Linked DNA regions of Homo sapiens: regions 2, 3, 4, 5 and 6 are each linked to region 1. The links are contacts of gene promoters, found by promoter capture Hi-C in blood cells and fetal thymus (Javierre and others, 2016). All regions are on one chromosome and are shown on one strand. The core of a region is centred on a gene start or on the middle of the fragment in contact, and the rest is flanking DNA. Distances in the headings are between cores, read along the strand shown. Region 1 holds the start of TRAPPC3L (trafficking protein particle complex subunit 3L). Region 2 overlaps NT5DC1 (5'-nucleotidase domain containing 1). Region 3 holds the start of COL10A1 (collagen type X alpha 1 chain). Region 4 overlaps NT5DC1 (5'-nucleotidase domain containing 1). Region 5 overlaps NT5DC1 (5'-nucleotidase domain containing 1). Region 6 overlaps NT5DC1 (5'-nucleotidase domain containing 1).

Evidence for each region. Contacts are between HindIII fragments. The CHiCAGO score rates a contact against its expected background, and 5 or more counts as called.
Region 2: a contact is called between a fragment that was not itself captured here and the fragment with the promoter of TRAPPC3L in region 1, in 1 of 17 cell types (neutrophils). The highest score is 6.1, in neutrophils.
Region 3: a fragment that was not itself captured here is called in contact with the fragment with the promoter of TRAPPC3L in region 1 in 4 of 17 cell types (naive B cells, naive CD8 T cells, total CD4 T cells and 1 more); the score reaches 7.9 in naive B cells.
Region 4: a contact is called between a fragment that was not itself captured here and the fragment with the promoter of TRAPPC3L in region 1, in 3 of 17 cell types (naive B cells, fetal thymus and M0 macrophages). The highest score is 6.0, in naive B cells.
Region 5: a fragment that was not itself captured here is called in contact with the fragment with the promoter of TRAPPC3L in region 1 in 11 of 17 cell types (total B cells, neutrophils, M2 macrophages and 8 more); the score reaches 13.2 in total B cells.
Region 6: a fragment that was not itself captured here is called in contact with the fragment with the promoter of TRAPPC3L in region 1 in 15 of 17 cell types (neutrophils, M2 macrophages, naive B cells and 12 more); the score reaches 20.5 in neutrophils.

The regions. Positions count from the first base shown.
Region 1 is chr6:116,543,687-116,548,602 of GRCh38, forward strand. It overlaps TRAPPC3L (trafficking protein particle complex subunit 3L), which reads right to left and starts at 1,998. Exons shown (of 5, transcript NM_001139444.3): 1 at 1,787-1,998. The coding sequence starts at 1,828. It also overlaps a transcript of CALHM4 not described here. The HindIII fragment of the contact is 9,007 bases long and covers 1-3,501 here.
Region 2 is chr6:116,101,872-116,106,151 of GRCh38, forward strand. All of the region lies in intron 1 of NT5DC1 (5'-nucleotidase domain containing 1), which reads left to right. Among named protein-coding and RNA genes, the nearest start is that of NT5DC1, 3.2 kb to the left of the region's middle. RefSeq lists an enhancer at 1,155-1,224. The HindIII fragment of the contact is 3,268 bases long and covers 802-4,069 here.
Region 3 is chr6:116,125,701-116,130,616 of GRCh38, forward strand. All of the region lies in intron 6 of NT5DC1 (5'-nucleotidase domain containing 1), which reads left to right. It overlaps COL10A1 (collagen type X alpha 1 chain), which reads right to left and starts at 432. Exons shown (of 3, transcript NM_000493.4): 1 at 353-432. RefSeq lists a silencer at 2,466-2,760. The HindIII fragment of the contact is 2,449 bases long and covers 399-2,847 here.
Region 4 is chr6:116,165,070-116,169,985 of GRCh38, forward strand. The region is part of intron 6 of NT5DC1 (5'-nucleotidase domain containing 1); the gene reads left to right. It also overlaps a transcript of COL10A1 not described here. Among named protein-coding and RNA genes, the nearest start is that of COL10A1, 41 kb to the left of the region's middle. The HindIII fragment of the contact is 3,388 bases long and covers 1,180-4,567 here.
Region 5 is chr6:116,184,930-116,189,845 of GRCh38, forward strand. All of the region lies in intron 6 of NT5DC1 (5'-nucleotidase domain containing 1), which reads left to right. It also overlaps a transcript of COL10A1 not described here. Among named protein-coding and RNA genes, the nearest start is that of COL10A1, 61 kb to the left of the region's middle. The HindIII fragment of the contact is 2,343 bases long and covers 1,199-3,541 here.
Region 6 is chr6:116,230,323-116,235,238 of GRCh38, forward strand. The region is part of intron 8 of NT5DC1 (5'-nucleotidase domain containing 1); the gene reads left to right. Among named protein-coding and RNA genes, the nearest start is that of TSPYL4, 21 kb to the right of the region's middle. The HindIII fragment of the contact is 5,967 bases long and covers 1-4,916 here.

The DNA.
Region 1 (4,916 bases), core at 748-3,247:
GGAGGACAGTTTTTTAAAAATACTAATTTCTAACATAAATTTCTGTTTTTCTAAAATATATGCCATCCATGTTTTCAGTTGGAAGCAAGAATTGGATAAGACTTCTCAGGCGTCTGCACAATCCCTAATGGCCCCCAGATCTGCCAAGGAGACCTTCAGGATAAACCCAAATGTAGCAGCAAATTTGTGAGTTTCTTTTCTTTTTACTTAGAGAAAAAAGGGGAATGTGATATTTCCTTATAGTTCTCCAAAATATGTCCCATTTTTAGAGTAAATTATAAATGAAAACTAAAACTTAAGACAATTTAGGTTTGGCTTAGGGTTTTTCCAAGAACCTAATAATAAATCACAAGAAATGCTGGTAAATTATCAATGAAAAGTCTGCTCAACATATAAGAGCCACAGCAGAAGACAAAGTGCTGCCATGTACTAATGCTACAGCATAAAGATAAGCAAAGGTGAAGAAGAGAGAGAGAGAGAGAGAGAGAGAGAGAGAATGATGAGATTGTTGTGACTAGCAGTAAAACAAAAGAATTTGAAAAAGAGAAAAGTAGAAAAAATCATACCCTACCTACATGCCATGGCCCCAACATTGTGTCCCTTTATAATTAAGGCCAAACTGAAATAGTGGAATTTCTTCTCTGTCCCTGATGGGTGGGCACTATTATATATTGAAATCTATTTTATTTCCAGCTGAGTTTCTGGTTCAGTACCCATAAAGGCCAGCTTTCTCTATTCTGCTTCATGGCCAAGGACTGTACCTTGAACTATCTGTTCAATTGGGTCTCAAATCCATACCACAGATGCCAGGAAAGGTCAACATAAGTTTATCTTTATCGTTTTTAAAACAATAAAAATAATCATATGAATATCTGAAAGAACATCATTAACTATTTCAGTAGGTTATGAATGTATCAGGATAAAAATACATTTTAACTGCTTTATAAAATCAAGTGATTTCGGTATAATATGAACTATGTACCATATATTTTTAGCACTTGAGAGTCCCACAGGAAAATAAATCAAGATCCCAGAAGGCCAGAGGAGGTATCTGCAGGCATTTCAAACTGAAGTATGCTAGTTAGTCACTACAATTCTAAACACCAAGTCTGAAATTACTTAATTATATCAAATGCCCATCAGTCTCCTGACATAATTAACAGAATTTTAAAGTTAACAGTGAGTTTTTGTATCTGTAGTATCTGAGTGACTAAAACTATAAGAGAGTATTAAAGAATATTATTTAAAACTAATCTGCAAAAAAATAAGGTTTATAAATAACTCTTAACCTGGAATATATAGAAAGGATGATATTACATACCAAGCTACAATAAGACTAGGAAACATTTTTAAAGGCAATCCTTTTTTGATGACCTATTTCGATTCAGTTTTACACATAATCAACTATATATATACACACATATATATATACATACATACATATATATACATATACATATATATGTAAGTTCCCATTTCCTGAAGTATGAAATAGAAAAAATTGCTAATATTTTCATATTTTCTGTCAGAGGTGAAAAAATTGACACTCATATTGATATAATTAGTCAGAAAAGAAGACCTTAAAGTGTGTATAAAGAATTGATTATTCTTTATGTAGGAGATAATCATAATTATTCCTAGATGTGTCATTTATGATTCACTTCGCTGAACACTGTCTTTCCTCCACTAAAAATTCTTATAGCATCAGTTTTTAAAATCAATCAGAAATCACTCAAGAAAACATTTTCTCTGAAGTAGAAAAAATCTCTTTGTAGAAAGATCTTACTATTTTATGGTATTCTGGTCTTCGGTGTGCAGGGCGAGACATAGTGCTTGATAGATGAAGAATATGATCTTCAATTTCTCTTCTTTTGCCTGTTTCTTAGAGGTGTATCAGTCCATGTCTTTTTGTTTTGTTTTTGTAAGCTCTTCCTCGCTTTGAGACAGGAGTGCTGCTTCTGCACTCTGCTGCTTTTGCTCTTTGCTGAGCTGAAGAGGGAAAAAAACCATGAACAACAGGATTGTCTTATAGCCACGTAACTTGCCATGGATCAAATAACTGCTTCATTTGTAAGGATGAATTGTAATCTAGAGCCATAAAAGCTGATAATGTGAAGTCAGACCTGAAGCACTGCAACTCAAAAAATTCTTTAGCCCGAGGGAGTTCAAGAGTGGTGTTTTGTTCTCAGGCCAAGACATTGTTTTAAAATCAGAAACAGAAACCTTCGCAATCCAAGATAGATCTAAATGTTAGCATTATTCAGTCTTGGATTGATTGTTGTAAGAATTAGAGAGACAAGATCAGCAATCTGTAGGTAATAAATCCTGAGTTAAAACGTGATCCCTCAACTACACCAATGGTTATCACACTGTCCCCAAAACCATAGATCCCTATCTTGTGTGATTACAGTATTCAAATATATCTGGTAACTTTTTTGCTTTTCATTAGCAGCAATCAACAACATTAAGGAGTGATAGAATGGGCAATATTTTCTTACAAAACTGTTGTTCAAAATGGGCGCTCTACAGTATCATAATGTATAATGATTCTGATAGAGAAAGTAAGCCCTTAGCTTTCTTTTGAGAGCTCCTGAGACGTAAGCTATTGAAGGCTCTCTTTATTTACGCAGAAATACTTAAAGTTCAAATAAAAAAATCCTTTCACCTTGACAACTGCAGGGTGCAGAGTAGGATCAAAATCTTTCCAGAAATGGAAGCGGAAAACTCAGTTTAGGAAAGTAATTTTCTTCTACTTATAGTTTGAGTCCATTAGTCCTATTTGTTCTGGAAAATTCTTGCTATAAAGTGACAAACTCAAGAATACTTTGACGAAAAGTGTGGTGTAGTTGAAAGAACCTAGGAGGATTTGGAAGGCTCAGGCTGTTGCAGCCCTACCATTTACTGGCTGTGTGGCATTGGGCAAGCCATTTTATTGCTCTATGACTCAGTTTCCACATTTGCAAAATGGCAACAATATCACTCACCTCACAGAATAATTGTGAGAACCAAAGAGACGAGGCGTACCGTAAAACACATTAAAATGCACCATATAATAACTAGTTACTATAGGTTATTCTTGTGGTTGGATAAATTGAATGGAATTCTACAATACCTAAGGCATTTCCATCACTGCATATGTTCTATGACACTATGATCTCAGGAAAATTAATTTCACTTAGTTGTGGGGTATGGGGTGGAGAGTTTTTCAGTAGCAAATAATAACGACTTATATGTATATCAAATTTACAGTTTACAACATGGTTTTCGTTCTCTTCATCTCATTTTAATTCAGATACAATCTGTGAAATAGTACTGTAATCATGGCCATTTTACAGGATAAGAATCTAAAAGTAGAGAGGTTGAGAAATGTATTCAAGGTTATCTGGATGTTGGCAACAAGAAGGGATTTGGGCTAATTTTGATGATTCCAAGTCAAATTTATTTTGTACCGCACACACTCTAATTATGTTAGAGCAAACTATTTTAGAGGCAGACTCAAAAAGCTTACTAAGGTGCAGGGACAGCATGTTGCTGGGTCAATTTGTGGGCAATCCTAGTTCTGAGTAAGATACCCCAGAGAATAACCTACAAAGGGCCTGTGTGCTTGCTGCGAGGTGATGGCGGTACTGGAATCAATTTCACCAAACTCTAATGGCTGTGGTATGGTCACATTATGGCCATCGGGAGAATTCGGGATGTCATTGGATGTATTAGAAAAAGCCGGCTTTTACTTCAGACTGACATGGCTCCCCTCTGCTCCATTGACCTTCCAGTCAAGACACGAGCTTAAGGAAGGAGCAGAGCCCCTGCCAGGTGCTACTGTACAAAGCACAACCTTCACGACCACAGCTGTACTCATCATCACAGGGGACACTGGTTTGCTGGTTTTCAGTCTATGAAACCTGCTAGTCTTCAGCAGCTCTTAGGATGCAAGTGAGCCCTGTGTTCCCCAGACTCCTTTTTTAATGTAAATGTACTCCTCCCTTAAATAGAAGAAAGCACAGAGATGATGTTTCAAGCGGGTACATGATCTATAATGTCTGCCCTGGCAGCCAACTAGGAAAGAATTATTCCAAGATAATGCATAAGCAAAGTTTTTCCTGTTTTACTAAGAGTTCTTTAGTCTTGTTAGGACTAAATCTGGAACTGGGGTTAGGAGAAAGACACATTCTTCAGTCTGGTAAAACTGCACTGCAGTCAACCAACCCAAGTAAATGGTGAATTGAGCTATGCCCCTATGCTGGTCCTTTGGGAATACATGGGCAGCAGAGTAGACACTTGGGAAGGTGCTAATAGAGGATGACATCCGCTGATCTGTCGGTTGTATGATCACCCGCAAACTATCAGAGAAGGCAAAGGTCTGAATGTCCCTAAAATTTATGTGTTTAAACTTAATGCCCATTGTGGTAGTTTTAAGAGTTGGGGCCTTTGGGGAAGCGATTAGGTCATGAAGGCTCTGCCCTTATGAATGAATTAGCACCTTATAAAAGGGCTGGAAGGAAATAGCTTAGACTTTTGTTGCTCTTCTGCTATGTGAGGATATAGCAACAAGGTGCCATCTTGGAAGCAGAGAAGAGCCCTTGCCAAAAAACAATGCCAGCACCTTGATCTTGTACTTCCCAACCTCCAGAACTGTAAAAAATAAATTTCTGGTGTTTATACTAGTCTGAAGTATTATAGCATCACAAAAGAACTAAGAAAATTGATTACTCATAAATGTAATCATTCACAGTCATTAGCAAGTTACACATTGGCACTGCAGATGAAGTGATTAGTTCTTTCAACAGTAAGCAATAGTAAAACTTGGGAATTTATCATCTACAAACTCCTTTACAGCAAGAATTTTACAATCCAATAATGTTTTCTAATCAATCTATGCTCCATCCTTTACTACATACTTCCCTGAAAGAATGGTC
Region 2 (4,280 bases), core at 1,186-3,685, 440 kb before region 1:
TGGTTATGAGTACAGTGGTGAAAGCGAGGACTCCTCAGCCAGACTGCCTAGCTTAGGACACCAGCTCCACTGTTACTAGCTCTGTGACTTCGAGGAAGTTACTTAACCTGTGCTGCTTCTCAGTTTCCCCATCTGTAAAATGGAGCTAATAATTGGATTTACCTCACAAGATTGTTGCAAGGATTAAATGAGTAAGAGATGTATAATGCTTAGAATAGTACCTTGGCAAAGACAAGTGTTTGCTTTTATGGTTACCACCCAAACTATTTGGAAACCTCACAGTTTATGGGTAGAACTCTAGATCACTGGTGCAGACATCAGCCAGGGTTGTGCCCCATTATGGGCACCCGCCAGTTCCTGCACCCACCAGTTCAGGTACACGTTAAAGGTCAAAAAAGAGTGGCTGCCCGAATTTCTCGTGTGTTTTCTATGCCCAGATGCTAAATTTTTTTTTAAATGTCCTTTTTCTGCTGTTACACTTTCCTGCTTTCTTACCTTACAGGTCTGGTTTCCTTAGTCACATTGAGAATTAAGAAGGCTTTTTTACTGCTTGATTCTTTGGCCACTGCTTCCCCTAGGTCTTTGATACATGTTTTCCTTCCCTCTGTGTCTTTCGAATCCTTCCTGGTTCACAGTTTTGTGTGTCTCCTCTTTAGTTACCTTCATTTGGAGGTAATATTGTTAAACCACTGTCATGTTAGAGCTAGTGTTGTCCATAGGTGATCATAAAATTTCAGAATATAAGATTCTCAAAGACAAGAGGTTTTTTTACTGCAAACCTGGAGAATAAGTGATGTTTAAAGCTTGAAAACAGTAACCTATTGAGTTTTGGATCATGTTTGGTGTGGAAATCTTTTTTATTTTAAGTCCCACAGTGTGCTGAGCACCATGCTAGAGCTGAGGATACAGAGATCAACACGCAGGCCTCCAGGCAGCCTTACACAGTAGGCAAAAATGCTGAAGAGTTAGTCTTGGTCCCTTGTGGTGGGTAGTATGACCTGGGTCTTGCTTCACGCTGCCAACAGTGCCTGGAGGGCCTCTTTGCTCTGCACAGAAGCTCTTCATCCCATCAGGCCTCATCTTAAACATCGTTCCCCTTAGGAAGTCTTTTTGGCCCTTAAAGTTTGCCCTTCCATTCTAAGCCCACCTTCAGTTTTCCACAAAACCCTTCATTCCTCATAGCACATGCTGCATGATATTAACACTTCCTGTTTACTTGTTGGACTTCCCCTAGAGCCCAGCGTGATGACTCCATCAGTATCTGTGACAGTTTCTTGTGTGTTCTGTGTGCCGAGCTTAGTGCTGGGCACATACTGGACTCAATAAATAGACTGAATAGATAATAGGTATTTTAATAACAGAATATGATACAGCCATGATTCTAATAAGCATGCTGCTTATATGAATGGATTTAATCCTTACAACGTCCCTGTGAGGTAGATATTATCACCACTGTTTAATCACTTAACAGTGATTTAGTCACTGTTAAGAGAGCATCAAGCAACGGGGCACAGAAGGAAAGTGTATCCAGGGCAACTAAGCGAGGTAGTCCGGCTGTGGATTTCTGCTTCTTCCCACCTTGCTGTCTGTATGGTGCCCGAAAACACAGAGGAAAGGCCGGGAGCTGGCAGGTGAGGAGGTGGAGAGGAGTGCTTCACCCAGAGGAGTTAGAGTAAAGGTCAGAACCTCGAGGTGAGCAACAGCACCGGGAACTGCTGGGTGCAAGCAAAAGGTGGCAAGTTGCAGGAGAAGATGGTGGAGAAGTCAGTGGGGGCTGCATCATGGAGAGCTGTGAGTGCGTCTCCTTTCAGTTTTGTAGGCATTTAACAACTGCACAGAGTTGTGCAAACACAGAACTGAGTGTGTCCCCCTCACATGAGGCCTCAGGAAAGGCATTCTAGAAGAGAGGATGACACATGGTTTCTCCTCTCTAAGGTTGCAGACTCAGAAGTCTGATACCAGTCAGTTAACGTAGATGTGTGAGTGGGAGAGTGGGGTCCCAAATATTGCATGCTTATACTAAAAAAAAATTATTTGTTTTTTATTTGAAAGTCACATTTACCTAGGCATTTTTAAATTTTATCTGGCAACCTTAAGTGGGAACCAAACATAATTTGTAGGCTGCATATGGACCACAGGGTACCAATTGGCAACTGCAGTAGAACGTGTATTATTATTACTCCTGAGAGACTGTGAGGTGGTGATAGCTAAGGCTGGGGGAGGAATGTCATGGAGAGCCCTGTGCCATGAAGGCTTCTAGAGAGACTCAGCGTACTCTAAGGACAAACTGCAAGAAGCCTTCTGCCTAGACCAGGGGTTTCAGAGTACAGATGCCCCTGCTTTTCTTCACACTGCTTTTCTCTGCTTCTTTTCCTTGTCCATTGGCCCCCTTCTCTCCTGTTACAGAAAAATCTCCTCCACAAGGTAAGGAACACAGCTGTTGCTGTCCCTGTTGGCGTCTCTGATGGAAAGGGCTCCTTTCTTCCAGGAGAATTCAAGTGTTTTAGAATTACATGCCCATATCTTAGACTAATCACTTGAATAACTGGAGAAACTCAAAAGTGCCTCAATGAGAGGCAAATCTAAGGTGTACAATAGCTGGCTCTTAGGGGCTTGTGAAAGCCAATTGTTAACTATTCAGGAATTGTGCAAGCAGGTAAACTGCTGTTGGTGACTTGAAACAGGCCATGGTGGGAATATTTACACCGTGGAGATGGGCAAGCGCTACCTGTCAGGGCAGTGTTTTTGTTTTCTGTTTTTTTGTTTTGTTTTGTTTTGTTTTTAGCAGCATACAACATAATAATAGCAAATACTTAAATTGGATTTGCTGGTGTGCCAGGCTCTGCTCTAAGCATTTTACATCTGTTAGCCCTGCAGCACTGGTTTCTTATAAGCAGGATCGTGATGTGGACTTTTTATTGTCCATAGTACTTTGTACCACAGGGTGACTCAGTGTATTTTTTGTTGCTTTTTTCCTTTTAATGATTGAATAAAAATCTGTAAAACATGCAGGTCAGTGATTTTCAGTGTTCTCTGTGCTTCAGAGAGGGCCCTCTCTACCCTGTATGCTTGGAAGCTCTGGGTAGTTTTAAGAAGTGTCACCTATGGTTCTGAATCACCACCAGGGTTAAGAACTGTTGATATATAGTGTTAACATAATGTGGTTCAATTAACAGTTGACCTGGATAAGGTCACATTGCACTGGATGGAAGTACATGTGTAGTGATTTTAATTAGCTTTATGACAGGGAGCAACTCGATTTGACATTTCACAAGGAGCCTTTGCTTTCTCCATGCTCATATCCTGACACTCAGACCCCGACACCCCTACTCCAGCTGTGTGCAGGCCCCTCAGTTTCTGAACCTGAGTTGCCCCCCATTCCCTCTGCATTCACCCAGCGAACTGCTGCATCTAAGTATCAGTGTAAACCTCACTACCCAGGAGAGATTTCCCCTGCTCCTCTGCCTCCCTCTTCTCCCTAAAAGTATGACATGTTATCGAAACCTGTTGTGGGTTAATATCTGTAGAAGAAGGGTCAGATTGTTCAGTGTGTCCTTTTGGACACTGTGCAGGTTGACTCAGACAACTGTTCTGCTCAGGCTCAAGTTTACCCAACACTGGCCAAAGAACACTTCGAGGTAGAATAAGGTTGGACCATCTACCTTTTGTGCACTTTTTGTTTGGTATGTACAGTTCTTTTAAAGTTAGCCAGCACTTAAAAACCAGATATTTTACTCAAAAACCTAGCATTTTTTGTTGTTGAGAAATAAGATCTGTCAGCAATCAACAGAGTATTTATTATTGTAATTATTGTACTTGCTTCCAGAGGCTTTCTTTGTCCTTTGTCTTTAGATTTTTTTTTTTTAATGGTTTTTGTGTATGTGTGTGTGGAGAAACAAGAGTGATTACCTGTATCTGATAGAGGCATCATGACTTGTTTAGATCACCTTCCTGGTCCCCATATGTATTTCCCTGACATGGGGCCTTTCTGGCCAGAATGGACCAAGGATGGATGGATAGAGTGGTCATCATCTTTATCATCTTAGTGATGTATTAAATAAGTTTAAAAAGCTTTGTCAAGTCTTAAATTATGATCTCCAACCCATTAGAATTCAGGAGTAGGGTTAATAATTGTCTTTGGTTGTATAATTGTATGCTGACGGTATAATTTTGAATGGGACAGCTACCTGGGGCATGCAGGGGATGATAAATTGCTTGTGAAGGAGAATTATACTGCAGAACTTCACAATTACAGATATTTCCTTCCTCCTACCTGCCCC
Region 3 (4,916 bases), core at 373-2,872, 420 kb before region 1:
CTATACTCAGGTAATCAAGTGAAAATAAAATGATTTACCTAAAGGAAAAGAAACAGAAATTAGGATTGGATGTCTGTATTAAATAATCTAGGATCTTTGACATAGCCTGAAATATCTAATAGTTTCAAAATACACTGAAATTCGGATTAGGGCAAATTTTTACAATATGGTTTTATTGGGACTATCATCCACAGACTGATGCAAAAAGAACTTTTGGAGTGCATTTTAGTAGAAACCCATTTTTTAAATCACTTTAATACTTCTAATACTTGAGAAAACTCAAGTATTTAAATCTTTAAAGTTTCTTTCCAAGCAAGTTAACATGGAAGTCCACCAGTAAGCGTACGCTTACCTGCGTGCTGGGAGTTCCTGGAGATGGTGCCTTGGCAGCTTTCTGAAGCTTCCTCTGCCCAGATGAGCAGTGCAGAAGGTGCCTCTCAAGAGCTGTTCAGTGGTATTTATACTGTTTTTCCCTTACTACATGAGGTTACCCTGAGCTTAAGCTCCTCCCCTCAAAGTTGGTAAGCACTAATTATGGTGGAAAGTTCTATTGGGTAGGCACACAAGATCGGGCTGGGCTCTCCTTTTCCTTGTTTTCTTATTTAAAAATAAACCCATTGTCTTAAATATATATTAATAGTTTTAACCAAGGACCGTCTTTGTCTGTGATTCTATTTTATTAATTAATACTCTAGTGTTCAGGCTGGTTCACGGTGGAATGATGATACCCCCTTTTTATTTTTGAAAAGCACATTCTTATGTTAATTGGTTGATATTATATAATATGTGGTAGTACATAAAAGCGGATAAAATTCCTTGAAGGGGGTACTGGATTTAGACCATCATCTAAATTATTGAGTTATTACATAAAGTTATCAATGTGTCTATTAATATTCATAAATTTTTGTGAAAATAGCTGACCCCAATTCTTAATTACTTTTAGGCTTTTAGGATTTAGATCCCTTATTCACAACACTACGCTATATTCAGTAAATGACTTCAGATTTTCTTGCTTAAATTTGGGTTTACTTTAGAGTTGCAGTAGAGTTTGCAAAAACCCCTTAATTTGATAATCTCATATTATGTTAATTTACATAAGATTGCTGTGTTTATTTCAGGAGAAAAAAATTTTCAAACTTTGCTTTCAGCTTAAAAAAAATATTATTGGCTTAACTTGCAGTTAGGAATCATCCCAATTAGAAACACTTTCCCTCAAAGGTGGAAGTAAACACTATTGTTGTCAATTTTGGTAGTTAGACTCTGTTTAACAATATTAGGAAGCCTTTAAAATCAGTTTTTAGGATCCTAAAAAATCTAATAAAGGTGGGAAGTTGAGAGTCCAAATTTTTCATCTTATTTAATTTCATCGTTTTGAATCAAAATCAAATTGACTATGCAGGTGAACTGGTTGAGGAGGACAATTCCATACACAGGCATAGACACATCATTTTTCTACCTCCACAGAATTAAAGTAGTATGGATTCAGGACTAATCAATAATTGAAATAATTGAAAGTTTGACCAGTGAATGAACTAAAGATTTGTCCTTTTTCTTTTCCCTTTCTCTCCCCTTCAAGCAATTTTCTGTATTTTAAACAAAGCCTTGTATAGCCCTTTATGGAAATGTAAATGGATAAGGCATCTCATTGCCTCTCTCCTCTTGCTTGTAAGCATTTTGTTGATTGCCATATTAAAAAAATTTACATTGTTGTATATATCTCTGTATAATACTCATAGATACATATAAAATATGTTTCTTATAGCAGTTTAGAATAACAAAATAGGAAAGTTTATAATTCATCATTTGGAAATTATATATGGAATAGCTTTTGTAATTATAATATGTACTCTGCTACATCTGTAGGAGACTACAAAAGATAAGTGAGAGAAAACACCTGCCTTTTGGCTTATGGCCCATTTGGACACAATTTTGAAAAAGTAGGTGAGGTAACTTTATGGATGCTTTTGAATGCTAGGTTGAATTTGTTTTGAAAGGAATTATTAAAATATATATTTTAATATTTTGTGTGTATATATGGTGATACACATGCACACACATACTGCTATTTGCTTATAATTGAGACTGATACCCTGTTAGTTATCACTCGTGAACGTTCAGAAGACTAATTCTCAGCTCTTAATACATAGTGCTATGCCCCTGTGTATACCATTTGTTCATCTGTGGCTATTGCAACAATTTTCAGAGCCTTTCACTTTAACCTCTCTGGGTGTCTGTTTTTTATCAACACAATGAAAAGTTTGGACTAGGTGGTTTCTAAGCTCCTCCCAGTTTTAAAATTAGATTATTCCTGTGCTTGAGGTATTCTGCTGTTCTCCATGGTCAGATGGTAGACTTGGCTCCAGTTAGTACTTATTAGAGACACAAAAAAATCCATACCAGGAGGTTGTATGTCTTCTTTTAGGGATATGTAAATATATGTGGGTATTTGTCATTCTATACTCCCCTTTAGTTTTGGAAAATGTGGTGTCCTTATTGAATAAGCCTTGGACATTCAACCCTTTTTGCAAATAGTGTACTTATTTCAGCACAAGGAATCTGACTGCTGTTTGCTTTGTTAGTCACATAAGAAGCACTGTCTTGTCCAAAACAGATTGTAGAATCAGAATATTTTCTAGCCACACCCCACCCAATTGTGTATTTAAAACTATTTTTACTCTGGGTGTTTACTTGTAGCTGTTTGAAGTGACTAGTCTGTGGCTTTATGAAGGAAACCCATTCCACTCAAAACAGAGAGCCATACTCTTTAAACTCTATAACCTGAGTAATTTTTTTAAATATCAAATATGAATAATGATTTTTTTCACATCTGGCAGTTAGCTACTATTAAGCTTGCCTATTCATTTGTACATCTGTGGATCGTTAATTAATTCACCTTATGTTTCTTAAGTGCTTCTTAAGTGTTAGACATTAAGATAAATACTGGGTGAATAATATATATTCTATACCCTTAAAGTGTTTACACAGTGGTTCTCAGCCTCTTTTCCCCACTCCTGCTGTCCTGAGGGAAATGCACAATTCCTTCAGCCTTTGAGGTTCATTAAAATAGTGGTGGTTCAAAGACTATATTTTCATGAAGCTCCTCAGGTGATCATGATGGCCTCCTAAGTTAGAATGTATAGTCTGATATCAGTGTTCTATTACCACCTTGTTAATATTAGTTACATTGGTTTTTGTTATTTGTGTTCATATGCTTTTTAAACTTTTTTACAGAAAACTTGTCTTTTATAGTAGTGAGAATAGTTACAATAAATGCCTATATGCCTGTCATTCAAACTGATCTCAACTCGCTGTCACTCAATTCTCTTTTCATTCACCACTCCTTCAAATTTTGAAGTAAATCCCATATATTGTACCAATTTACCTGTGAATATTTTGGTATATTTTTCCAGAAGAGAAGGAGTCTTTTTTCTTTAAAACAATGTCATCATCGTATTAAAAAATCAGCCATTTCTTAATATCATCAAATCCTGTAGTTCACATACATATATAGACATGTATATACACAAACATATGTATACACATGTCTATATTATATAGAAACACATACATACATATCCACATATATTTTTTATTGATTGATAAATTGTTTGTTGAAATTAGGTTGATTCATATATCCCTGTTGTCATGGTTTGAATGTATCCCCCAAAGTTCATGTGTTGGAAACTTAATTCTTAATGTAACAGTTTTGGCAAGTGGGATCTTTAAGAGGTGATGAGGTTGCGAGGACTATGCCCTCATAAATGGATTAATGTTATTGTGGGAATGGGTTAGTTGTTGTGAGAGTGGGCTTTATATAGAAGCAAGCTCGGCCCCCTTTTGCTCTCTTGCACACTTTTGCCCTCTTTTGCCCTTCTGCCTTCTGCCATGCGATACTACAGCATGAACGCTCTCTCCAGATACCGGTGCCATCCTCTTGGACTTCCTAGCCTTCAGAACTGTGTGCCGAATAAAGCTCTGTTCATCATAAATTACCCCGTCTGTGGCATTCTGTTATAGTAGTGTAAAATGGACTAAACCTGTTACTCTAGGTGTCTTGTGTCACTTTTTACTCCCTTGCAGTTTATTTGTTGAAAAGCCGTGTCATCTGTCTCATGCAATTTCCTGTGATCTAGAATTTGTTGTCACTTAACTTGCTACTGTGGAGATTGGTAGTTAAATCTAGAGTTTTCATCTGATTTCAGGTTTGAGATACACACATTCACTCACACACAGATACAGCACACACAAATACATTTTTTGGCAAGAACCCTTTACAGAGAGTGGTATGATATACTTCTGTTAGGAAGCCCTTAATTGCTGGTGTCTCTTTGGTGTTACTGGACATTGGTAATTGCCTACAGTCAATATTTTATTATAGGTTATAAAATGATGATATTCTGATTTTATCATTTGTATTTTATTTATTAGCTAGGATATTCTCTATAAAGAAAAACACCCCTTCATCAACTATTTGATTACCCTGAAGTACAGTGTGTATAGAAAAAGCAGGAGAAATGCCTTTACCAGCATTTAGAACAATAAGCTGCTCCCAGCATCCTCCACAGGTGTAGTGAGGAAAGTGTGTGTGTTTATCATTATAAACATTCAGTTTATAATGTATTGTATGTGTTTCAGTCCGTGGCACTTATTAATCTTACTATTGTTCAGAATTTTTTCCCCATTTTTGGCCAGTGAGAGCCTCTCCTCTACCAGTTGGCTCCTGAGTTCTTTTGACCATGATCCCAGTAGTTTTTTTTATAGCTTCTTTCCTTCTAATGTTTTGTACCTTTCGTGGCCCAGATCTACAATAAGACATTTCTCCACAGACTCTTAGTTTCTTTTGTGGGAAATAGAAACCACAGTCTGAGTGCCTGGATGTCTGGGTCCTAGGGATGCACATTGCTTCTGGGTTGGTC
Region 4 (4,916 bases), core at 1,624-4,123, 380 kb before region 1:
CTAGGCGACAGAGCGAGACTCCGTCTCAGAAAAAAAAAAAAAAAAAAAATTATTGGCTGGCATTATTTTTCTTTAAGAAGTCTAAAACTAGATCCCTGTCTCTTCTGGCTTGTCAGTTTCTGCTAAGAAATCTGCTGTTAGTCTGATAGGATTTCCTTTATAGGTGATTTGATCCTTTTTTCTAGTGGCGTTTAAGATTTTTTCTTTAGCATTGACCTTGGATAGTCTGATAACTATATACCTTGGTGATGTTCACCTTATATCATATCTCACTGGTGTTCTGGATTTCTTCCACATGGATTTCTATATCTCTAACAAGATCAGGGAAATTTTCCTGAATTCTTTCTACCAATATGTTTTCCAAATTGCTTACTTTTTCTTCTTCTTTCTCAGGAATACCTATAAATTATAGATTTGGTGACTTCACATAGTCCTGTATTTTTAAAAGGATTTGTTCATTTTTTAAAATTCTCTTTTCTATTTTTGTCTGACTGGGTTAATTCGAAAAATGCCTCTCCTACATCCACAACAGTGGACTGAGGGAGCAGGAGATGACCCCCCTCTACATCTGTTACCAACCACCAGTACCACCCCATTCAGTGATCAGTTTGTACCTGCATTTCCTTTGTCCCAAGGGGGTTCTTAGTGGGCCGCACTTCCCCCTCTTCTAGGGGCAGCCTGTGCTTAGGGCTGAATGTCTGGAAATCCCACAGCTCCCCAGGGACCTGCTGGTCCCCTGTGGTTGTCAAGTCAGAGCAGGTTCTGGGCTATGTTTGCAGGGTACTGGTGATTGCAACAACTTGGGCTGAGATTCCCCATGCAGGGTAGTAGCCCACAATGAATGCACAACCAGTATGGTGTCTGTCCTCTCAGCTCAGGCTTGAGGGGAGTGAGGGGATACCTGCACAAACTAGCCACTCTGTGCTCTGTCCCCAGGAAGATCCTAAATCCGCACTGACAGCATTGCCTGGGGTCATGAAGGTAGAAAGGCTCCCTGACAATTTGGCAGTCAGCAGCTTATTGCAGGGGTGAAGGGAGAAGAGAAGCACCCCAACCTACCCTTCAGGCGGGATTCAGAGGTTCTCGGGAGTCAATCTCTGCGAGACTCTTGCTGCTTTCCTTTTCTGCAACCCCACATCAACCAGTGGGGTCTCCAACAGATCCTGGCTATCTTCCCTAAGCTTTCCATTCAGATCATGACCATTCATCTATGTCTTTGATCTTCTCTCTGAGGATAACTGACATCCAAAATCCCTAGTCAGCCATCCAGATTCCTCCTAACCAACAATTTTGATACATGGTGGTTGGATATTCAGTTCTAATTAAAAACATAAAGGAATGGATCAACCAATCTTCAACAAAGGTGCTAAGAAATCACAATGGAAGAAGGATTTTGTCTTCTGTAAATGGTATTGGGAATAGTGGATATTTGACTAGTAATTGTGATGAATTGCTAGAGGCTGAGTGTTGGGCCATCAGAGAGTGAGAAACTCCTGGCATCGATCTCCATTTACCCAGTTTCCCAGATATTTCCCTTGAGGTTTTCACTGCTGACATCCTTTTCTACATGCTGATAAAAAACACTCTTAAAACCAAGTCAGTAGTGTATTTCAAAAGTTAATTCAGTTATTTATCTAAATCCATGAGAAATTTCTACTAAAGTTTCAGAGACTTTTCATCTTTTATCTAGTAGTTACTTAAATTATGTAAGAGATAAAAATGGTTCCCTGATGTAAACTTCATCACAGTGGTTTCTATTTAAAGACGAAAGGACTGAAATTCTGAAATGTCTGGAATCTGACCTTGAAATGAGAATAATTTTTTGTTATTCAGAATTGAGCCAAAGAATTGAGCCAAGGAAGTATCTTGCCTTCCTTTCTTGTCTTTATTAATTGTTTTGGGGAGCCTACTCTGTACAGAGTTGCATATTAGGCCTACTATAGGACTTATAAAGATGGTTTATAAATTTTTGCCCCCAAGAAAATTAAATCACACTTAAAACTATTCAGAGCATGTGATATCCGTAGAATTATCTTTTATCACTGATGATTTGTATATGTTCAACCAAATGCATCAGATATAAAAGTGACATACTTTGTACTTAAAAGGTGTTTGTAAAATTAGTTCAAATAGAAGATTTTTTTTTTTTTTTTTTTTTTTTTGAGACAGAATCTTGTTCTGTCGCCAGGCTGGAGTGCAGTGGCACAATCTCAGCTCACTGCAACTTCCGCCTCCCAGGTTCCAGCGATTCTCCTGCCTCAGCCTCCCAAGTAATTGGGACTACAGGCATGCGCCACCACTGCCGGCTAATTTTTTGTATTTTTAGTAGATACAGTGTTTCACCGTGTTAGCCAGGATGGTCTCAATCTCCTGGCCTTGTGATCCACTTGCCTTGGCCTCCCAAAGTGCTAGGATTACAGGTGTGAGCCACCGTGCCCAGCCCACATAGAACTTTCTAAGGCAAAAAATATGCATCATTTTGATACCAGTTATTTGTACTGATTTCATTTGATAAAATTGCAATATTTTATAAATTGACAGGCATTTTTTACTTCCTTCTTTTCTTACCCTTCTACCCTTCGTTAGTTTTTAATTTGTTTGAATTGTTCATAGGCAATGTTTCGGCTCAGTGACTTGGGAAGTAGAGCTTTCCTAGAAAAGTCAATGCCCATGACCGTTGTTGGATAATTACGTTGCATAGCCCTCAAGTTGTTATGAATAGATATGATTGTTTAGCTCAAATGAAGTGTAACATTAGAGCTAAACAATCATATCTGTGTATTGGATGTTGATTTTCTGAAAATTTTTTTATTTCACTTTCATTCTTAGAGAATATTTTTAATGGAGGTCTAGGTTAATGGTTATTTTCTGCACTATAGTCTAGTTTCTATTGTTTATGTTGAAAATTCAGTTATCAGTATAATTGTTCTTTAAAGGATAATCTGTTTTGCTGAGATTACTAATTTCTCTTTGTCTTTGGTTTTTCATCTTCGATTTATGATGTACCTGGTGTCTTTTTTTTTTTTTTTTTTTAAATTCTCCTTGGAGGGCTTCTCAGATATTCACTTAACACCATTGGTTTGTTTTGGAAAATTCTGAGCCATTATCTCTAAAAATATTGTTCTGCTCCTTTTCTCTTTTCTCTCTTTCTGGGATTTCAGTTATTCATATTTTAGAAGATATTTTTACTATCATTTATGATCTTTCACCTTCTCTCTTTTCTTGTCTGCCTTTTGTTCTGTTTTCTTTTAATCTCATTTCTAACCATTTTTCTAATTCTCTCTTCAGTTGCGTCTAATCTGCTTATAAACCTATCCATTGAGCTTTTAATTTTGATTACTGTATTTTTCAGTTCTAGAATTCCATTTAGTTCTTTTTCTATTTTTCAATTCTCTGACAAAATCTTGATTTTATTTTAGAGCTTCCTGAATTTATTATTTATAGTTTTCAAGTCTGTCTTTATACCATAGGAGCTTCTGTGGATCTGGTTCAGTCTGTCTTCATGCCATAGGAGCTGCTGTGGATCTGGTTCTGTCGTGTATTTTCCCCCTTTTTTTGATTGTTTGTTTTGTTTTTATATTATATTGTCTCCTTGAGTATCTGATAATTTTTTATTGATACTAGCTATTGTTTTTTTTAATTTTATAGAAAAATGTTGAGGTCTGGATTACTTTCTACAGAGAGTACTTTTCTACAGAGAAAAATGTTGAGGTCTAGGATAACTTTCTACAGGGAGAACTTATGTTTGCTTCTGGCAGGCAGCTAGGGCTCTAGCACTCCTGGATCACCTGTCATCAATTTTTAGAGATTGAGGTGATGTGAAGTTGTGCTTCAGGCCATTGAGAGCTGTATTATATCTGGTTCGTACTTCTTTCTGTAGTATAGCCTTTTGGGTCAACCTGGAGAGCTCATTAACTTCTAATAAACCCTGGAGAGTTTATTAGCCTCTACCTAACCTTGGCAGGCACTGGCCTCCATTTTTTGTCCTCCAAGCCTCTTGAAGATTGCGACTTCTTAGGCTCTCCTTTACTTTTCTTGAAGTTGGTGTTACTGCTAATTCCAGGCAGAAGCCCCAGATTCCAAGCTCAGCTTTCTGGGTTTCTCTTTTCCTCAGCTTCTCAACTTGACCTCTTAAATCTTCATTGACATTTTGGTTCTTCAGTGCTGTTAAGCAGGTATTTTTTAAAGTTTGTTTAACTTTTCTAGTTATCCTCAGTTAGACAATTTGTTCAAATGGCATAGTTCTCCACTGTCAGAAGCAAGAGACCAATTTCCACAACATTTAAAAAATGAAAACATGTTATAGTTTCCAGTTTATGACTGTTACAATATTTTGTGTCTATGCTTACTATATTGCCACTTCTGTAAGTTCAGTAAGCATAGTGATTAGCCAGAATATCATGATAGGTGCCGTAAGTTCTGTATGAAAGACTATATGGTAGGAAAATATATATCTTAACAAGCCTTTTGAGGATTTTAGCTATTCATTTTGCATACTGATCAACTATATGCAGCATTGCATGAGCTCTTTAGGTATGGGGTAGCCTGTAGTACCTGCTATCTGCTAAGCTTTATTTTTTATTGAGAAATTTTAACAAATGGATAAAACATGAGGAATGAAGAGTTCTATTTTGGACCTCTTGGGTTTGAGATACCCATGTGATGTCCTAGAGGAGATGTGTGGACAATTGGACAGACATTTGGAGTTCAGAGGATTATCAATAAAAACCTATTGATTGAAAGTGTGTATAGATGATATTTATGAAAGGAAGAAAAACTCAGATTGAGCAAGTGATAATCCAGCATTTATAGTTCTTAGGGCAGAAGAGGAGTTGAGAAGAAAGGTAGATAAGGAAGAAAGGAAAACAACAGAAATAGGGGAGAGGGGTTTCCTAGAACTAACAAAGAGAATTAGT
Region 5 (4,916 bases), core at 1,120-3,619, 360 kb before region 1:
TTGTTCTTATTTCTCTAGCTCCTTGAGTGTGACCTTAGATTGTCTATTTGTGCTCTTTCAGACTTTTTGATGCTGTGAACTTCCCTCTTAGCACTGCCTTTGCTGTATTCTGGAGGTTTTGATAGGTTGTGTCACTATTATCATTAAGTTTAAAGAATTTTTAAATTTCCATCTTGAGTTCATTGTTGATCCAAAGATCATTCAGGAGCAAGTTATTTAATTTCCATGTATTTGCATGATTTTGAGGGTTCCTTTTGGAGTTGATTTCCAATTTTATCCACTATGGTCTAAGAGAGTACTTGATATAATTTCAGTCTTCTTAAATTTGTTAAGACTTGCTTTGTGGCCTATCATATGGTCTGTCTTGGAGAATGTTCCATGTGCTGATGAAAAGAATGTCTATTCTGCAGTTGTTGGGTAGAAAGTTCTGAAAATATCTGTTAAGTCCATTTGTTCTAGGGTATAGTTTAAGTCCATTGTTTCTTTGTTGTCTTTCTGTCTTGATGGCCTGTCTAATGCTGTCAGTGGAGTATTGAAGTCCCCCACTATTATTGTGTTGCTGTTGATCTCATTTTTCTTAAGTCTAGTAGTAACTGTTTTATAAATTTGGGAGCTCTACTGTTGGGTGCGTATATAGTTAAGATTGTGATGTTTTTCTGTTGGACTAGTCCTTTTATCCTTATATAATGTCCCACTTTGTCTTTTCTAACTGCCGTTGCTTTAAAGTTTGTTTTGTCTGATGTAAGAATAGCTACGCCTGCTTGCTTTTGGTATACATTTGCATGGAATATTTTTTTCTACCCCTTTACCTTTAGTTTGTGTGAGTCCTTATGTGTCAGGTGAGTCTCTGGAAGACAGCAGATACTTGGTTGGTGAATTCTTAGCCATTCTGTCATTCTGTATCTTTTAAGTGCAGCATTTAGGCCCTTTACATTCAACGTTAGTATTGAGATGTAGCATACTATTCTATTCATCCTGCAAGTTGTTTCCTGAAAACCTTGGATTTTTTTCATTGTATTGTTGTTTTATAGATCCTGTGAGATTTATGCTTTAAGGAGGTTCTATTTTGGTGTATTTCAAGGATTTCTTTCAAGATTTAGAGCTTCTTATAGTGGTTCTTGTAGTTCTCTTTTGGTAATGGCAAATTCTCGCAGCATTTGTTTGTCTAAAAAAGACTGTGTCTTCCCTTCATTTATGAAGCTTAGTTTCACTGGATACAAAATTCTTATATGATAATTATTTTGTTTAAGGAGAACAAAGGTAGGACCCCAATGCTGTCTAGCTTGTAGGGTTTCTGCTGAGAAATCTGCTGTTAATCTGATAGGTTTTCCTTTAAAAGTTACCTGATGCTTTTGTCTCATAGCTCTTAAGATTTTTTTTTTTTTTCATCTTCACTTTAGATAACCTGGTGACTGTGTGCCTAGGTGGTGATCTTTTTGCGATGAATTTCCCAGGTGTTCTTCCCAGAGCTGCTTGTATTTGGATGCCTAGATCTCTAGCAAGGCTGGGGAAGTTGTCCTCGATTATTCCCTCAAACATGTTTCCCAGACTTTTAGATTTCTCTTCTTCCTCAGGAACACCAGTTGTTCTTAGGTTTGGTCATTTAACATAATCCCAAACTTATTGGAGGCTTTGTTCATTTTTATTTAATTCTTTTTTCTTTGTCTTTGTTGGATTGAGTTAATTTGAAAGCCTTGTCTTCGAGCTCTGACTTTTTCTTCTACTTGTTCGATTCTGTTGCTGCGAGTTTCCAGTGCATTTTGCATTTCTCTAAGTGTGTCCTTGACTTCCAGAAATTGTGATTGCTTTTTTATTTATGCCATGTATTTCACTGGAGATTTTTTCATTCGTATCCTGTATCATTTTTTTGATTTCTTTAAGTTGGACTTGTGCCTCCTTGATTGACTTAATAGTTGATCTTCTAAATTCTTTTTCTGGCAATTCAGAGATTTAGTCTTAGTTTGGATCCATTGCTGGTGAGCTAGTGTTATCTTTTGGGGGTGTTAACCATGTTTGTCATATTACCAGAATTGTTTTTCTGGTTCCTTCTCATTTGGGTAAACTATGTCAGATGGTAGATCCGGGACTCAAGGGCTACCGTTCAGATTCTTTTGTCCCACAGGGTGCTCCCTTGTTGTGGTGTTCTCCCCTTTCCCCTAGAAATGGCTCCCTGAGAGCCAGACTGCAGTGATGCTATTTCTCCTCTGAATCTAGCCACCCAGCAGAGCTACTGGGCTTTGATCTGGTACTGGGAAGTGTCTGCACAGAGTCCTGTGATGTGATCTGTATTCAGGTCTCTTAGCTGTGGCTACCAGCACCTGCTCCAGGAAAGGTAGCAGGGGAGCGAAGTGGACTCTGTGAGGGTCATTAGTTGTATTTTTGTTAAGTCCAACCAAAATTTTAACAAGTTTCTTTATAGAAAACTGAAGCTCATGCCACAATTTATATGGAAATGAAAAGGGCCATGAAGAGCCAAGACACTCATGAAGAACAGGGCAAGAGGGTCTGTCCTACAAGACACTAGCAAATAATTCATGGCTTATTTTAAAGTTACAGTAATTTGGTCAGAGTGCTTTTGGTATAAAGACTGACAACTAGAAGATCACTGAACCGGAGATGCCAGAAAAGACCTTTGCAGTTGTAGACACATGCTTGATGACAGAACAGGTACAGCAGAGCAGTGGGGAAAGGACTGTCATAAAGGGTGCCTGGAGAGTTGGAAATCTATGTAGAAATTCATAAAACTTGATCCCTACTCACATATTAGACAAAAATCAATTTCACATGGATTATAGAAACAAATATGAAAGGCAAATCAGTAAAGCTATCAGAAGAAAATCTGAGAAAAATAGCTTCATAGCTTAAAGATAATGAAATATTTCTTAAATAGGATAGAAACAGTATTGATTGATTGTAAAGGAAAAGTGAATAAATTTGACAAACATTAAACGTCTCTCTTCATAAAAAATTACTAAGAACGAAAGGGCAAGTTATAGAAGAGAAGATATTTGGAATACATATAATGATAAAAAGACTTTTATCTAGTGTAAAAAAGACCTATAAATCAGTAACAGGAAGACAGCAACCCAGTAGAAAATGAACAAAAGTCTTGACAGGCAGTTTACAAATAGGGAACTCTAAATGGCCAATAAACATGAAAATGTGCTTATGCTTATTAACAGTCATGAGAGTGCTAATTAAAGTTCAATGAGGTACCACTAGATATCCATCAGAATAGTTGGAATTAAAGAATCTAGTGATTTCAGTGGTTGGTGAGGATGTGAAGCAAAGAGAACCCTTAAACTGCTGGTGGGAGTGTAAATTGTTGAGTTGGTTTTGAAAATTGTTGAGTATTATCCTATAAAGTTGAAAGTGAGCATTCCCTATGACACAGCCATATTAGGCTGCAATATATACCATCCAGAATGTTCTTAGTGGCATTCACTATTACACCAAATTAGAGACAGCCCAAATATCCCTCAATAGTGCAGTTGCTATGCAGTGTGTCATACAGTGACATTCTATTCATCAATGAAAATGAAGCTTTATGAACAACATGAATGAATCTTAAAAACAGAAAATGAGAGAGAAAAAGCCAGTAATACAGGATATACATATTCTATGGTTGCATTTATAAAATAGATATTAAAATGGGTTACACTAGAGCATAATTAGGTAGTAAAGCCAGAAAAGTAAGGATGTACCATAGATATGAGGATAGCAATTACCTTTCAAGGGTGGTATCAGAGGACTTCTGGTATCCTGGAAATTTTCTACTTTTTTTTTTTTTACCTGATTAGCAATTACATGAATGTTTATAACATTTCAACCAAAGCACAGATTTATGTTTTTTGTCTTTTCTATGTGTGTGTATGTTTTATAATTTTTAAGATTATGTATAACTTCTGATTTAAGGAGAGAAGGCCTATTTCATAGCTGATACTCTGTTTTTTAATTTGGATCTGTTTATTTATAATTAAGCTTCACTACCATTTTGCAGAGTGGAGTTTAATTTATAATTGGAATGGATAAATAAAACATTATCATTGGCCCCACATTAGAACTTCACTGTATTTAAAACAGATTTTATAAATTCTAGAAGTTGTATCCTTGTATATTCACAGTTAAAGTCATTATCAGTTTTCTCATTGCAATTGATTTTTTAATAATTATTTTAATCAAGTTGAAATGAGATGTTTAGTAGTAATACCTTTCCTACTTGAATTTTGTTCTTTTTTTTAGTTGACCACTCTTGAGAAATTTATTTTAGGTACAAATTGTAATAAAAGTTTTACTTCTATTTATTAACTGGTACTTTTTTCTCTTGTAAACCTTTAGAATTGTGTAATTGATTGTGCATGTGTATATTTTTTCCCTCATTTTGAGGGCTAGTAAGCTCACAACCCGATTTGAGACTTACATATAGTTCCAGTATTGCAGTATATTTACATTTATTTTTTGTCTTCGTAGTCTTGACATTTTATTCTGATTTTCTTTAGCTTGGGATACTTATTCTTTATATACCTCCCTCTCATTTCTAACTATATTTTGCAAGCAATTTAGAACCTTTTTATATTTAGGAGGAGAAGACACAAATGAACATATAAACGAATGAGTATTGGATGACATTGAGTTGTGCTTGAGACTACTGGTTCTCTATAGTTCTTGTGTATTAAATAAAGTTCAAAAGTTTAAACCAGTTATGCAGACTGTTTTTCTATTTTTAAAAGGCCCTTGCCTGTCAAATGAGAGTAAATATTTATAGTTGGCCATGGTGAAATGTTCTGAGGATGAAAAAAAAATGATTTTAATAGAACAGCATCCTTAATAGAAGATGGATACAAAAATCCATTCATATGCAGGAACTAGAAAAGAATGAAGTAATGGTAGACAGCAGTTACTTAGTTACAGCTAAA
Region 6 (4,916 bases), core at 1,353-3,852, 310 kb before region 1:
ATTGTACAGTCTTGTTCCTAAATTACCTTTCCATCTTCCTTAACTCTATCTCCATAAAAGTACCCTTTACTCCTACTGAAATGATTGCCTTTTATTCTTATATCAAGTTTTTGTTCTCGCTATTCTGTCAACATCAGTGTTTCTCAGACTTTCATGTACACGTGAATCACCTAGAGATCTTGTTAAAATGGAGATTCTGATTCAGAGGCCCTGGTGAAACCTTAGATTCTGCATTTCTAAATAACTTGTCTGGTGAAGCAGATGCTACTGGTTGGAAGATCACACTTTGAGTGGCATAGATATATGTAGAATGCCTTCTCCCTTTCCTCTCTGGTGACTTCCTACCTCTTATTTAAGGTCAGACATACAAATCACACCTCCTTTGCGATACCTTCCTTCTGCAGCTCCAGTCAGAGCTGTTTCCTTCTCTGTATTGTTTAGTGCTTTCACTTGGCTACAGTTGGGAAATTGTCTGCTGAACTTTGTCAGCGGATGTTAGTGCTGAGGGGTGCAGCTGTCTGCAGGAATCTTTCTGTCTTTAGCACAATTCCAACAACATTAACAGCTCCCCGAATGAAGGAGGCTGAATCCATCAGCGAACTAGTCAACCCCATCTCCACTAAAAGTACAAAAAATTAGCTGGGCGTGGTGGCAGGTGCCTGTAATTCCAGCTACTCAGAGGCTGAGGCAGGAAAATCGCTTGAACCCAGGAGGCAGAGGTTGCAGTGAGCCGAGATAGCGCCATTGCACTCCAGCCTGGGCAATAAGAGCGAAACTCCGTCTCAAAAAAAAAAAAAAAAAAAAGAACTATGAATGAATGGTAAATCCCCCCCCCAAACCAAAGTAGATAAGAGTAAGAATCACACTTTTTCTTTAATAGTATAATTGTCCTGTTATAGCCCTCAACACAAGCATTTTACTAGACATTTTACTTGAAAAATGTCTTACCTGTCCATGCCAAGAAACAGAGAAAGTATGTATGAAAATGAACAACTGGAGAAAAAAAAGTCTAGCCCAGAATTGAGGAAGGGATTTATAAAAGTAAATATGAACTGTTTGGTCAAATTTACATATATACAGAAAGGAATCCTAGAAATAAAAATTGTAAATATATTTTTAATCATAATTCATTATTTAGTAACCTCTAACAAGTCAGAGATTGCCACCAGAATATAAGCATCCTTAGGGAAGAGATGTTTAGGGCAGAGACTTGAGCCATCTCATTCACTGCTATATCCCTACTGACTAAAACAGTCTGTGAAATATAGTAAAAATGAAGAATGAGACGAGAAAGAAAATGAATTGTATTTCTAGCTCAGATTCTGTTTGACTCCACCAGGCTGTGCAGATCCTCTCATGTTTGTAACTTTTTACTTGTAACAGAAAAACATTGGCAACAACCCACATGTCTATCTATAGAGGACTATTATTAATAAATAAATAATAGAACATGTGTAAAATAGAATGAAATGCACATATTTTAAAAGGAGGTAGATTACACTGTGCTAGCTATAAAATAGTTTAAAAATAGCAAGTTGCAGAGCCTCATGCAGATTATTCTAATAATAGCATTTAAAAGCGTTTTAAAATTATTAGTATTATATTAGTTTGCTAGGGCTGCCGTAACAAAATACCACAAACTAGATAGCTTGAACGATGTATTTTATTTCTTTGCAGTTCTGCAGGCTGTGAAGTCTGAAACCAGGTTGTAGCAGGATTGGTTTCTTCTAAGGCCTCTCTCTTCTTGGTTTGTAGATGGTTGTTTTCTGCCTGTGTCTTCACATAGTCTTTCCTCTGTGTCTATCTGTGTCCTAATCTCATCTTCTTAAAAGGAGACTATTGGATTAGGTCCACCCTGAGAGTCTCATTTTAATTTAATCCAGCCTTTAAAGGCTCCATCTCTAAATAGTCACATTCTGATATACTAGGGGTTATTATTTTAACTTATGATTTGGGGAGAAACATAATTCAGGCCATAACAAGTATATACATATGCTGAAACTCATCAAATTGTATGCTTTAAATATATTCCATTTATTGTATGTTGATTATGTCTCAACAAATGTGTAAAAACATGGAGGAAAAGAATATACTCATATTCGTATTTGCTTTTATATGCATAAAAGAGGAGAAGAGGTGAGTGCATACCAGATAGAGTTCAAAAATAAGACTTAAAAAACATGTAAATATATTACTGATTCAGAAAAAAATCTCATAAATGCATATTTTTAAACATTAATAAAGTAGTGACACCAAGCACTTGGGGAGTTTAGGGGAGGCAGCAGTCTCTGTGAGTTGAGGTTAGTGCTTCTGGCCTACAAAACTTCTCACAGATTCTGCTCTCTGTGGTAAGTTTTGCTTAGCTTTATTCAAGGCTGTCAGTCTAGCCTTGACTGTATCATTGTCCCATATCTACTTTGTAACTATTATACTGTCAAAAACTTTACTGTTTTTTAAACTCGTCTTGTCCATATGTTCTTACAATAAGAAAATAAAAAGATTTACTTCATTGTAGTAAGACATAGCTATATTTAGGAATAAATTACAGTTTCCAAGACAGCTTTAGTTTTATTTATTTGCCTAAATTGATGGCTCCTCCATCTCTTTATCCAACCTTCATTTGTTTCTTAACTTCATTAGGTCAGTTTTTTGGTAGTTTGTAGGCTAAAAGAAAAGATTTGAGCTTTGTTCTCCTATGAGTTTTCTCCTTTGTAGTTATTTTATAACCCAAACATCTATTAGTGATTAAGTTAAAGGGTTTGAGGAATAATTTGTATATCTTGTAGAACTTTGGTATAGAAAATTGTCCTAATAATATATTTTTATAGAAAAATGTTTTCAATTAATACATTTTACCTAACTGTTAAGATTGCTTTAATTAAAGCTGGGACAGTGGAATTTTAGGAAAGTAATACAGGTTTGCTGTTTTATCAAATAAAGTTTTTTATCAGTGAATTTGAGGGACATTGTGAAAATAATAAACTATAAAATTCAGTTCAAAGGGCATTCTAAAGCCCTCCTTCTTTTCTTCATTCATTGCTGACCTGTTTTCAATATATATGGAAGATTGTAACAGCACTAAATTTGAGCCTTATATAAAGATGCCATAGGAGGTTGGCTGAGGCTCCATCCTAAGTGAGAATTGTTCGTTTGCGGGTGTCCTCAGGGATGCCAGATAAAGGTTTATTCTGTGCTTTAGTTGTTTCCTGTTTGTGGCAATACCATGGGACACATTCAGGTCCAGGAATCCAAATTCGGAAATGCTCTCTGGGAGTATCATCTTACTTTGTCTTCTAGCCCCAATTTGAAATCCTTTGGAATAAGGAGGCAAAGTGCATTCTTGTCCTGGCTCTTACTATAACATTTCAGTGACTTTGGGCAGATTCCTTAACTTTTTCAGATATCAGTTTATTCACCTGTAAATTGAAGGGATTATAGCTAAGACTTCTTAAACACTTACTTTGTGGCAGACACTTTTCCATGTGCTCCATTTTTATCTGTATTAATTTATTTACACAACCACTCTGTGAGGTAAGCATTGTTATTATCCCCATTTTAAAACTGTGGAAGCAAATTATCATCACCATCTATCCCCTTTGTCTTCTTTATTTTTTTCTATATCTTCTAACGTTTATCTTTCTATATCTTATAACTGTTTTTTTTTTTTTTTTTTGAGACGGAATCTCATTCTGTCATCCAGGCTGAAGTCCAGTCTGCAATCGCCACCTCCTGGGTTCAAGCAATTCTCCTGCTTCAGCCTCCCGAGTAGCTGGGACTACAGGCACGCACCACCATGCCCGGCTAATTTTTTGTATTTTTGGTAGGCACAGGGTTTCACCATTCTGGCCAGGCTGGTCTTGAACTCCTGACCTCGTGATCCACCTGCCTCAGCCTCCCAAAGTGCTGGGATTACAGGTGTGAGCCACCATGCCTGGCCCTTCTAACATATTTTTAATTATACTTTTTAAAATGAATATCCTCATTGTACTCTTTGCAGGACACTGTTTTTTGGGTTGGGGTGGGGGTTGTTTGTTTTTAGACAGGGTCTACTTCTGTCACCCAGTGGGGAGTGTGGTGACATGATCTCGGCTCACTGAAACCTCTTTCTCCGGGCTGAAGCTATCCTCCCACCTCAGCCTCTCAAGTAGCTGGGACTACAGGTGTGCAACCCCATACCCAGTGAATTTGTGTAGTTTTTGAAGAGACTGTGGTTTCACCATGCTGACCAGGCTGGTCTTGAACTCCTGGACTCAAGCAGTCTGCCTGCCTCAGACTCCCAAAGTGTTGGGATTACAGGTGTGAGCCACCACACCCAGCCTACATTTTTAAATATTATGTAAAAATAGAGATTTAGGTAACTATTTTTGATTGACCTTACAAAGAAGTACAGTGTACTATCTAAATAATGTAAAAAGTGTTTATTTGGGTTTATAAACACTGTGCTTGAAACTTTCCTGAGTTTGTTCCTCTGTACTGTACAGCTTCCACCTCAGTTCTGCGGCTTTCACAGTCCGAACAGGCTCTCTACTGCAGGAATTAATAATTCTCTGAGTCTTGCAGCTTCCTAGCTGTGGAGGCTCTGCCAAAACCCGCAGCCTCAGCTGCCCTTGTAAATTAATTATTCCTTAAGGCAGCCTCCAGTATAGGGGCTGGAAACAGGGAGGGGAGGTAATGTTTGTATAAAGTGAATTTTTTGTTTTGACTTGATTTGGGTTTTTTTTTTTTTTTTTTGCTTCCTATTAGATTACTGAGTCTCAACATTTAAGAAGTTATAATACTATGGATTTTTTTAAATTTTTCATAAGTAGTAGAAAGATTCTCTTCCCGTTATCCTTGCAAAGTAGATATCTACATATCAACTGTGAGTCTTTTCAGAAGTATTTCTGTAAATTATTCATTTCCAATTGCCATCAAAT